Regions from separate parts of the Homo sapiens genome. Here region 2 is linked to region 1. Evidence: promoter capture Hi-C in 16 types of primary human blood cells and fetal thymus (Javierre and others, 2016). All regions are on one chromosome and are shown on one strand. The core of a region is centred on a gene start or on the middle of the fragment in contact, and the rest is flanking DNA. Distances in the headings are between cores, read along the strand shown.

Evidence for each region. Contacts are between HindIII fragments. The CHiCAGO score rates a contact against its expected background, and 5 or more counts as called.
Region 2: a contact is called between a fragment that was not itself captured here and the fragment with the promoter of S100B in region 1, in 2 of 17 cell types (naive CD8 T cells and naive CD4 T cells). The highest score is 5.7, in naive CD8 T cells.

Annotation. Positions count from the first base shown.
Region 1 is chr21:46,602,334-46,607,985 of GRCh38, forward strand. It overlaps S100B (S100 calcium binding protein B), which reads right to left and starts at 2,749. Exons shown (of 3, transcript NM_006272.3): 1 at 2,680-2,749; 2 at 1-83. The coding sequence starts at 82. RefSeq lists an enhancer at 3,787-4,288. The HindIII fragment of the contact is 9,714 bases long and covers 1-5,652 here.
Region 2 is chr21:46,551,534-46,557,260 of GRCh38, forward strand. DIP2A (disco interacting protein 2 homolog A) reads left to right here. Exons shown (of 38, transcript NM_015151.4): 24 at 101-210; 25 at 291-371; 26 at 2,636-2,759; 27 at 3,042-3,163; 28 at 3,289-3,400; 29 at 4,449-4,558; 30 at 5,406-5,536. Among named protein-coding and RNA genes, the nearest start is that of S100B, 51 kb to the right of the region's middle. The HindIII fragment of the contact is 624 bases long and covers 1,031-1,654 here.

The DNA of each region.
Region 1 (5,652 bases), core at 1,499-3,998:
GCTTGTGCTTGTCTCCCTCCCTTCCAGAATATTGGTGGAAAACGTCGATGAGGGCCACCATGGCCTTCTCCAGCTCAGACATCCTAGGGGCTCGCAAAGGAAAGTTGCCTTCTCATCTATACCTCATCCTAAAACATTTCATATGTTATCAATACAGACCTCAACCCAGACAAGGGGGATGGAATGGCCTTGGCACTCTTTTCAAGCTCAGAGCAGCAGGCATGGCCTGGAGGGGCATTCTGGGAATTTGCACTTTTATCATAATCCTTCCACCGGCCTCTTAGACAGCTGTGGGCCTGCCTTCTCTGTCCGTGTGGGCCACGGGGATATATTCCCATGCCCTCTGAATTCTGGCTGGGTTGGGCCAACAGGGAAACTGGCAAAAATACAGAGGCAGAGCAGCAAGGGAATTCAGGGATTAATTTCCCCTGAATTAATCCCCACAGGGTCCCTCTCTGTTCCTGCAAGGCTCCAAGATGAGGTGGTAGAGTGCAGGTGAGCAAACCATCAACTGCAAGCTGTTAAAATCAATCTGAAAGTGAGACAGTGACTAGGAGCAAAATAAGAAGACAAAAAATCAATAGCATTCCTATATTCTATCAGTAAAGAAGTAGAAAATACAGTGCAAAATATCCTATGCATATAGCAATAACATGTGATCTAAGACTAAGTTTAGGAAGAAAAACGTAGGTCCTTCCAAGAGATTCTGAGGAACATAAAATGTAGGAAGTTTTTCCTTTAAATTCATATGTAAATTTAAATCATTTTTAATAAAAACAATGGAATTTTTTTGGATGGGTGACATGACAAAAACAGCTGTAAAATTCATCAGGAAAAATAAATATGGTAGAATTGCCGCAATCTTTTTGAAGAATAACAGTGAAAGTTATTTGATCTACCAGGAAAAAAAAATGTATCCTAAGTTTAACTGATCAAATGGGTGTGGTTCTGTCGCAGGGAGGGACAGAATCCAGCAGAAAGCTGAGCTGCTGAGCCTGCATTCCACCTCCAGTGTACCGAAAGGGTGGCTCATTCACTGCAGTGACTGGGACGGCGGGAGGGGGTGGGGGCAGGAATAGGTGTTTCTCTGCAGCTGTCAAAGTAAGAGCCCCCCTACCTCCCTCACAGCAAGTACCTTACGCCACAGCCTACGAACCAAGGAAATATCTGGTCAGTCTGGGAATGAGGCGCATTTTACAAAGGTTGCCTTGTCAGTTGTTTCACAAAACAGATGCGCAGTCAGAGAAATTTACCAGCTTTTGGCCTTGAGTTCTAATCATTAAATAAGAACGTTTGCGCTGTCATAATTAAAAACAAATTAATAAATCAAATAGTGTTGAAAAATCATTCCCATGTTGAATATATAACTTACATCTTAAAAATAATTTGGAATTATTTTATTTATTTCTGATCCTCCGAAGGAAACAGGATTGAAGATTTTTTTATACTGGCCAGATCTTTGCTAAAGTCATTCTATTAATAATCAGTGTACTTTATTTTGCTCTTGAGTCCCTAAAAATTTGATAATTCACAAATAGAACAATTAAGATGGATTAAAATCTTTAACATTTCATGCTTTCTTATTCTTTGCACTCAAGTTTTCAATTATTGATATATGCATGTTTGTATGTGTGTGTATTTTTTTAAACAAAACAAGACACTTTTACATCATTCTGATGCTCCTCAAAGTCCATGATGATTTGGGGAAAAGGAGGTTAAATTGTTTTTCTATGAATTGTGACTAATGGGATTATTACAAAGGAAAGGCATAAAACATGTATCCCATATATTAGAACACTAATAGAAACCACTAGAAAATATGGTTTTCTTCATAACCACACTACAAATCAATTAAATTCTTGTTAAATTTTTCCCTTTGACCTAAGAAATAGTTGATGGTTTATAGTTTATCTTTTAAGAGAAATGGAAATAAATGTCCGTTTCTTTCTCACATTCTTTGAATGTCCTACATTAATCTTTTAATATTGAGAACAAGAGAACTTTTGAACTTTAACTCCTTAGAAAGACAAGTTACCTAGCGTGTGAGGATCCCTCTAAAGAAGGGGTTCGACCTCCCTGAGAAACTGTGAGACTGAGGAAAGTTAAAACCCACCAAAACCCCGATTTCTTTGACCCAATTTATTTGTAATTGTTACGTAATTTCTGAGTGGCGTCCTGGGGCTGTGGGGACCCTGGCACTTCAAACTGAGGGAAACTGGAAAACTGAAGAGTTACTTACCCAGGGCGGTGGAAGAAATATAAGGAGAAAAGGGAAGCATTTATTTATGATATAGGACTAAACTAGCATTAGGTTCTCCATCATTTTTAGCCCCAGTGGGAAGCAAAATCTTTACTCTTCAAATAGTTACAGAAGAGGCAGTATTTGTAGTACCGCTGGGAAAATGTCAACAATCACTTCTGGGCCATGAAACCTGACGTTTCTCTGATTTATGGCAAAACACACCTCTAGCTGTCTAGGGCTGATGCAGTCAGGTGTCCACAAAGCAGCAGTAATGTGGAGATTAAAACACATCATCCTATTGACACTTCTGAAATGCTGCCAATTGTCCTAAAGGGGCTTTTTAAGCTACCACTTAGTTTCTACCCCTCCATTCCGTTCCACCCAAAAGAAAAGAACCATTTCTTCCTGAGCGTCCTCTTGGCCTGGCTCTTTCTCACCTCTTCCTTGTCTCACCCCTTCCTGGTCTCCTTGCTGCAGGCGTCGTCTCTGCTGCGGGTCCTGGGCGGCAGGACTGGTGGGCAGAGGCAGCCTCTTATTCCCTCTGCCCAGGGAGGATGGATGAACCCTGGTGCAGCCCACTGCAGGCCGTGGCAGCCAATGGGAGCCGAAGGCGGGGGTGGCAGGGCTGCCAGGCCTGCACACAGGGCTGCATTGACCAAGCAGCCCCGGGGACTTGCTGGGAGCCAGGATTGCACATGGGCTGAGGAAGAAAAAAGGGCCTGTAGGGCAGGAAGTGGGGAGTCAGCTTTTTGTGCGATTTCTTTATTACATGAATATTGATGTCACCCTAAAGGCAAGGTTGGGGGTGGGGAGAGGAGAGAGACTTGGATTAATTGATTCAAACAAAGCAAATGTGCAGCCAAGAACAAGCAGCTTCCAAGTACAGGCTGAGCATAGGAGATTAAGTGGCCTGCAAGTTGGTTTCTAATGGAGAGGCCCCTGGAGCTTCTCTCCTCTGCCATCCTCCAAGTCTGGCCCCACTGGGCGTGAAGTTCTGTGGACAGTAGTGCTTGTCTGTGGTCAGCCCTGGGCTCAACGGGGCTGCCTCAGAGAAGCTGCTGAGGCCAGTGTCTGCAGGGACTAAAACGGGTGGTACTTTTAGGGGAAAACGTGATGTGTGGACTGTATCCCAAGGCCTTTCCCTCCACCCCAGGGTGGAAGGTCACAGACTCTCAGAGTTGGACGATGCCTTAGAGATGTCCCGTTCGAACGCTGTTTTACAGAGGCGTGTGGACGGTGTGCCCCCTTGCTGAAGCCTCCAGCCAGCCTGAGGAAGGAGAAGTCCAGCTGTCCCCTCAACTCGCTCGACTGGAGCCTCTGAACACGGGGGCCAGTTTATGGGTTCTTCTTCACAAGAATGAAGAAGTAGGTGTTCCTTCTGACAAATTACACAAGAACATTGGCCCAAACTCTCCAAAAATGTCCATGGTCCCCAATGGATGCCTGACCCAGCATCACGTCCTTCTCCCAACCCAGTTTCAAAGTGGCCGTGAAAGGGTTTCCCACAAGATATCTGTGTACATGGCTGTCTTGCTGTCATTGTTTTATCCAGGACGTTCTCTACCATTCAGGATCTGTAAGTGTGCCCTGGAAATAGCACAGGGCTGAGAGCTGTGGTCTTGCGTGGCTCAGCCTGCCCCAGCCTCCTGTGAGGAACAGCCTGAGCAGTGTGGTTGGCCCTCACTTCCTCATCGGCTTCACCACCCCTGGCTGTGGTCTCTGCTGAAGGATCTGACACAGGCTTGCTCTGTGAAGCACAGAGCTTGCCCAGGCCCAAGGAAGGCACAACTGTGCTCTGTGCCCCTTCCTCGCTCAGATGTTGGAGGGACCATTCCTGTAAGTGCTGACCACTTCCCCAGAGTGGCAGCCTGAGCTCTGGATTAACCCTTCAGTGTCCATAGAAAACGCTCTAGCCTGCTCCTGCAGGGGTTAAAAATAGTTTGAAATCCACTCATGCAATGACCGTACACCTGTGCTTAGGGCACTGCGTTCAGCAGGAGGGCCCAGCCGGGCCTGCCCTCTGCACACTGCAGCTTCCTGGGATGGCAAGTGTGGGGCCGTGGGTCCACCCTGTTCCCAGGTCTTGGAAGCAGGCTGAGAGAGAGGATCTGCCACAGGGAGGAAAAGGGCTTTCAAGCGCTCTGGGGCCCCAGGATGGTATTCTTTGCCCAGGCTCCCCAGGAGCTCGTGGATACAACCTCACCAGCTTCCCACAGATTCCTACAATTGCTGGGTCTGAATCTTGGCTCCACCATTTAACAGTGGTTTGACTTTGGATAAATTCCTAAGCCTTTCTGTGAAAGGGGTGACCGTAGTCCCTACTTTGCAGGGTTGTTCTGGGTGTTTTTCCCTGACCTTCACACTTCCTGATCACCCTGGCTTACCTGTCCTGACCCCTCAGTTTTAATCTTATCCCATTAGACTGGACAGCCACCAGATCCAATCATGTGTGACTCCCACATTCACCCACCCCCTGCAGCTACATTCCACAGGAAGACCCTTCGCTAAGTAATGAGAAATGCATTATTGAGTGAGTGGAACACCTGAAAAGTTCCATGGTCTGTAGCCTACATATGACCATGTGGATTGCTAGACTAGACCTCTGATTTCAGCGGGACGATAATATTTCAGAGTAGCAGGCTAAGACAAGGTGGGCATGTCAGCCATAAACAGCAGAAGGAACACACCGATAATCAGAATGCCTTGGTCCACAGAGATTTTTGGCAGTGGTGAATTGCTCACAGTGTTCCTTAGAATGAAGAGATGGACAGTCGCTAGAGTAGTCTTTAATCCACACAACAGGAAAACCTCTAGGTCTGGTCACCGAAGTACCTAACTTGAATCACCACAGTGGAGATCATGGGCTCTCTCCGAGTTTCCAGACCTAAGTTGGGTCAGACCTAGAGCATCTTGATTGAAGGGAGAAGCCAAGGCCCCTTGAGAAAGAATCTGTGCTAGTGAGAAAGAATACCATAAACCCTCTTCCACACCTTTTCTGAAGTGTCCTGCAGCCATCAACTAATGAAAAGGAAGTAACCTAGATGTCTCAGGGATTGCCTCAATTGACATAAATTCCTGGGAACCAAAAATGGCACTGTGGCTCACCAGTCAAAGCAGAAACTTGTGATGGTCAGTTCTTCACTTGATAGAGGTTCTAACATGAGACCGACTCACAGGGGGCCCAGTTGGTACACTATTCTCCCTATAGTTAGTTTTTCAGTTCCTGGTTGTATAATTGAAACAAACATACACTAGCTAAATCCCCTCACTGGCTCTCTTACGTATGAGATGAGGACCATGATGGTAGGAGAAGTTTAGTGAAAGTCCCAGAACTTCCCCTTCTTATCCAGAAATACTGAATCTCTGAAAGAGCTTTGGAGATTAATGCCACCATTAAAGGGTTGAAATAA
Region 2 (5,727 bases), core at 93-2,592, 52 kb before region 1:
CATTCAAGTATGTTTTCAAAATAAAAATTGTAAATAAAATCACGTGATGTTTATATATGAGAAGTCACCAGCTTTTCATTCAGAGTTCCCCCGTTTCTAGAGGTTGGACCAGCCTCAATGATCGTGGGGAACCTGGTTGCTGGGAAGAGAATCGCTCAGGCTTCCGGGAGAGAGCTCGCCCACCTGGAGGACAGCGACCAGGCACGGAAGGTGACAGGCCAGTTCCGGGGACGGGTGGACGGGTGTCTGTGCCCCGGAGGCGCCAGTGAGCAAGTCGCCCTCTCGTGCAGTTCCTGTTCCTGGCTGACGTGCTGCAGTGGCGTGCCCACACCACTCCTGACCACCCGCTGTTCTTGCTGCTGAACGCCAAGGTGAGGCAGTGTCACGCCCACGGGGCTTGGAAACACCTGTGGGCCGGTGGAGCCCTTTGCTTGTCTAGTTCATGGTGCCAGTGTCCTGGTTGTTCTCATGTTTAGAGAACAGGGTGCCTGTGGACTCAGCCCCCGTCCTGGTTGTTCTCATGCGTAGAGAGCAGGGTGCCTGTGGACTCAGCCCCCTTGTCTGGTGCGGTTCTCGCTGCCTGCCCTTTCCTTTCTTGTTTTCCACACATTTCACACAATAGTATTTCTATTGATTTTGTGTTTAGCAGGAAAATTTTTATCAGCTCAAGTTTTTAAAATTAAAAACAGTATACATGTAAATATTCCTAAGTTTGTGAGCTAAAAGGAAATGTTTATTTTGTAAAAAATTAGCCATTTAGAATTTCTACATTTGGTTACAGCTTTTAAATGACAAATGTTGCTTCCTGCCCTGCTCCTGCTGCTGATTTGGAAATTCTCATGTGTTTCAAGTTCCTGTTGTGTGCATTCCACTGTGCTAGGAACATTCAGGATGTCAAGAAGGAGAAGCTGTAATCTTCATATTCAGGTTGTGGGCAGGAATGCGAAATGCGGAAACACAGAAAGTTAAATAACTTAAAACCCTGCAAGGCTTCCTGTCCCACGCACCATACAAGCTGTAAGAACTCTTAAGCTTTGGTGTCGTAAAGAGTAGGTCACTGTGGCTTAGAATATGCTCTTCTAGCTCTTGGTGCTGCTCATTCGAATTAAAAAAATACTTAATGATGCCTACAATGTGCACAGTGCACAGTAATAAGATTAAAAGGACCCCTACTCTCAGGAGGCTTAAAATCAGTCTTTCCTGCTAGAAAACAAGTTCCGTAGGAGAGAGACTTTGTTTTTCTGGTGTATTGGAAGCATCTAGAACCATGCCCAGTAAACATTTATTTTATGATTGATTGAGTTCTAAAGCCTACAAACCAGCCAGTGATTTATCATTGACCAAGGTAAAATCAGCTTATGGTGTGAACCTCAGTATCAATACAGTGGAGTGATGTAACCTGGAGTGCTGGGGAGGGGGCTTTGAATGGAACTGGGTAGCAGGGGCTATGAAGAATGATGCCCAGTGGCTCAAGGCAGGAAAGGAGGCCAGTGTGGTGGGGGCCAGGTGGTCCCAGGTAGGGGATGCAGATAAGGCTGGGGGTCGCTGGGTTTTCCCTAAGGATGCAGTGGGATCCCAGACCTTGCGGGCTTTGAGTCCCAGTCCAGATCTCAGGTTCTGTCCTGATGGGGCCCTGACTCATATGGACTGGCAAAGCTTCCGGGATTTGGAATCTCAGGATCTGCCCAGCCCTTGTGCCTGGACACAGCACATAAGTGCGTCCACTGGTCTCTCTCTTCCACTGCCTTCTGTCAGTAGAAGCCACCAATCGAGAAACAGGGAGTTTTGATGTTACACTGGTCTGCTCTGGAGTTTTATATTTATTAGACTGAATTGCACTTTTTATCTTCTTAAGAAGGACTAAAAAAGCTGCGAGGCCTGGCAGGGGATCAGGGAGGATGAGTGTCCTGAGCAGAGAGGTAGGGTTACCAGGTATTTCTGTTTGCCTTGAACTGGTCACATAGCCCCAGTGCCCCTCAGCAGAGAGACAGGGTGAATGAAGGAGCTGGTGTAGTCAGTCCTAGAGGAGACACACAGATGCCTCTGAGAAAGCCGGTTGCAGATGACACACGCCCAGGCTCAGTGCAGGTGACCTGTGGGCATGGAAAGTAGTACAATTCAGGGATGTTTGCTTATCGCTTATTATGTATTTATAATGGTGTCGTATGGAATATTTTATTGAAAAGGCCAGAAAGGTCTTCTTTACCCACGTGTTTCTGGCTCTGCCCTGGGTGAATGGAGTGCCCGCATCTCTCCCTCTTAGCTGGGACCACACAGGAGATACTTGCATGCCTGTCCCTTCACTGCTAGTGAGAGAGTACAGATGGTGAGAAAAGACACCAGTCGTGGACCATGTGCGGTGGCTTATGCCTGTAATCCCAGCACTTTGAGAGGCTGAGGCGGGCAGATCACTTGAGGTCAGGAGTTCGAGACCAGCCTGGCCAACATGGTGAAACCCCATCTCTACCAAAAAAAAGACACCAGCCGTACGTCTAGGACTGACACATTGTCATTATCATGGACGCTAATCACAAGGTGTCGTGTGCAGTGGCGTGCAGGTGGTGTGCACGCAGATCTGCGAACAGCCCACCTGCACGCACCAGCATACAGATGAGCTCAAAGATCGCTTTCCTAGGGCACCGTCACAAGCACTGCAACCTGTGTCCAGCTGCACAAAAGGGCTGAGAGAGTGGCCGCGGCTCTGATGGAGAAGGGAAGACTGAGTGTTGGGGACCATGTGGCTCTGGTCTACCCACCAGGTGGGCTCACTGTGGGGCTGTCCACCTGCAGCTCTTTGTAAGCAGCCTCCTATCCTAAGCAGCCCCCTAGACACTCCCTCCCCGAAGCATCTTCCAAAACTAAGCTCAGCCCCTCCTCTCTGCATGTGTCTGCCTCCTCAGCTCAGCTACCCCTGTGGAAACCCAGGAGTCACCCATGCCCCCCCAGCACCACCTCCCCTCCTCTCTCGCAGGAACAGTGAACAGAGGCTGGTGGGAGCCTCTTGCGGCCGGCCTCCTCACAGCCAGTCCTTGTCTCCACAGGGGTGGACCTCATTGCCGCGTTCTATGGCTGCTTGTACTGTGGCTGCGTGCCTGTCACCGTGCGGCCCCCGCACCCTCAGAACCTCGGCACCACACTGCCCACCGTCAAGATGATCGTGGAGGTGCGCCTACCTGGCCCGCGGGTCAGAGTCTGTGAGTGGGAGGCTGCAAGGCTGCCCTCCGCTGCCCCCTTTTCTGGGCAGCTTGAGAGGCCCCGCCCACCCACCCTTGGCCCCTCGCCATGCAGGTCAGCAAGTCTGCATGCGTCCTCACCACGCAGGCTGTCACACGGCTGCTCAGGTCCAAGGAGGCTGCTGCTGCCGTGGACATCAGGACCTGGCCCACCATCCTAGACACAGGTGCGTGTCCTCGCACTGCCCAGGACCAGTCCCTTTTCCTTTCTTTGTTGTAGGTGTGGTGTGGCCTGGCTGCCGTCCAAAAACACACGTGAGGCAAGAGCAGTCCTGGCAGGAGCCTGGCTGACAGCAGGGGGTGCCCCGGGCCCTGGTGGGGAGTAGGGGTCCCTGTCCCATGTGTAAACCCACGCTCCACTCAGCCCACAGCAGCCGCACCCAGTCCCAAGTGGTGTGGAGCACAGCCTTGCCCCTCTCACCCGCCTCCTACTGGCATGGGGGCTGGCAGCTCTCTGAGGCTTTCTGCAAACGCTTTGAGGACACAGCTCCCACCGCATGCCGCCACTCCAGCATCCCTGTCCCCATCATTGGTGAATGCTGTCATGCCCCATGAAATGCTGAGGGCCAACAGGGTGAGGGTCAGAAACCCCCCTGGCTCCCCTCTGCCGTGGACCTGTCTCAGCCTGGGCTGGATGGGGCTGGGCCAGGGCAGCTGGTGTAGGGGAGGGCAGGCTCAGAGCCAAACAGCTGGCCAGGGCCCCAAAGCCTCACGGGCTTGCCTCAAGGGGAGCGGTGCCTGCCCTGCTGAGCCTGTGTCCAGTTGCACCCAGGGAGGCAGTGGTGTCTGGCTCATGGGGCCACGAGAACTTGATGAAGCACGCAGAACCCAGAGCCCGTCCACAGCTATTCTTGCTGTGGTCGGGACTCGGCTCATCTGGGCTTTGCCATAGGCTCTGTGACTTTTGGCAAATCCCTAGTCCTCTAATCTTTCCTACTGGTCAGTGACGTGATGCCTCCCCTCTTCGCCCTGCCTCGTCCCCCATCCCCACAGGCTCAGTGTGGTCTTGGTGGGACCGGGTAGCGTTTCCATGAAGAATGAAATACGCTTTCCTGAGCACGCACAGCCTGCATCGTCACGGCCCCACTCCCGTCTGAGCTCACTCTCTGCAGGACTCCCAAGGACAAATCATGTGTCGCCTCTTGCCTGTGAAAGCCCAGAGCGTTCAGAATACATGTGGGAACACTAATGTTGCTGGTGTCTCCTGTTTAACAGATGACATCCCAAAAAAGAAGATAGCAAGCGTTTTCAGGCCCCCCTCCCCCGATGTCCTCGCATACTTGGACTTCAGCGTGTCAACCACTGGGATATTAGCGGGAGTGAAGGTAGGTCCTCTGAAATCTTGTTTGCTTCAGCCCCTAGAAATCAGGAGGAGTGGACAGAAAGGATGTCAGATGCAGATTTAAACTGACAGGTCCTTCTTATGCAAAGCACAAAGCAACAATTTTGCTTCTTAAGATTTGTGTTAAATACCAATAAATGCTAAGATGTGATTAGCCTGAGAGTAATGCGTTTTCTGATGCATTATGGTTATGTCTAAACTTTCTGATTTATGACTGTCTAGCTTACAGGAACTGGTGGCTTTGAAGAATCTCTTACCTTGCTGGGAGTCAATAGCTCAATTAAAATTTTTCAGGCGGGGCGTGGTGGCTCACGCCTGTAATCCCAGCACTTCGGGAGGCCGAGGCGGGTGGATCACAAGATCAAGAGATGGAGACCATCCTGGCCAACGTGGTGAAACCCCGTCTCTACTAAAAATACAAAAAATTAGCTGGGCATGGTGGCAGGTGCCTCTAATCCCAGATACTCAGGAGGCTGAGGCAGGAGAATTGCTTGAACCCGGGAGGCAGAGGTTGCAGTGAGCCGAGATTGTGCCATTGCACTCCAGCCTGGGCGACAGAGCAAGACTCTGCCTCAAAAAAAAAAAAAAGAAAAAAATTTTAAAAATTCATTACCCTGAAATTTTGTTTCAAAGATTTTTAGTGTACCATTTCTTGGGTATTATTTAGGTTATATGGGGATTTGAGCCAACCGTCTTTTAAGGAAATAAATATGATGTTTGGTAGTTCGGAGCTATGGTCTAGCCATGTGAACAGCGGACACTGCCATCCACCCTCTCCCCTCCTGAATTTCATTTCACTTTTTTTTTTTGAACTTTATTTTACTCTTAAGATGTCGCACGCGGCCACAAGCGCCTTATGCCGCTCCATAAAGCTGCAGTGTGAGCTGTACCCCTCGCGGCAGATCGCCATCTGCCTCGACCCCTACTGTGGCCTTGGTTTTGCCCTGTGGTGTCTGTGCAGGTGAGTGCAGGGCCCCTGCTGCCTGCCAGGTGGGAGCAGCTCGTGTGGCTCTTAGGAACCTTGGCCTTCTAAGGCACCTTTTCTGGGTGCTCAGGAAGCCGATGAGATGTGTGTGAGTGGGTTTGTTTGGGGATGAAGTGGGTTGGAGTCTGAGTCTGAAATTGAGTGAAAATACATTTTTCATTAAATAC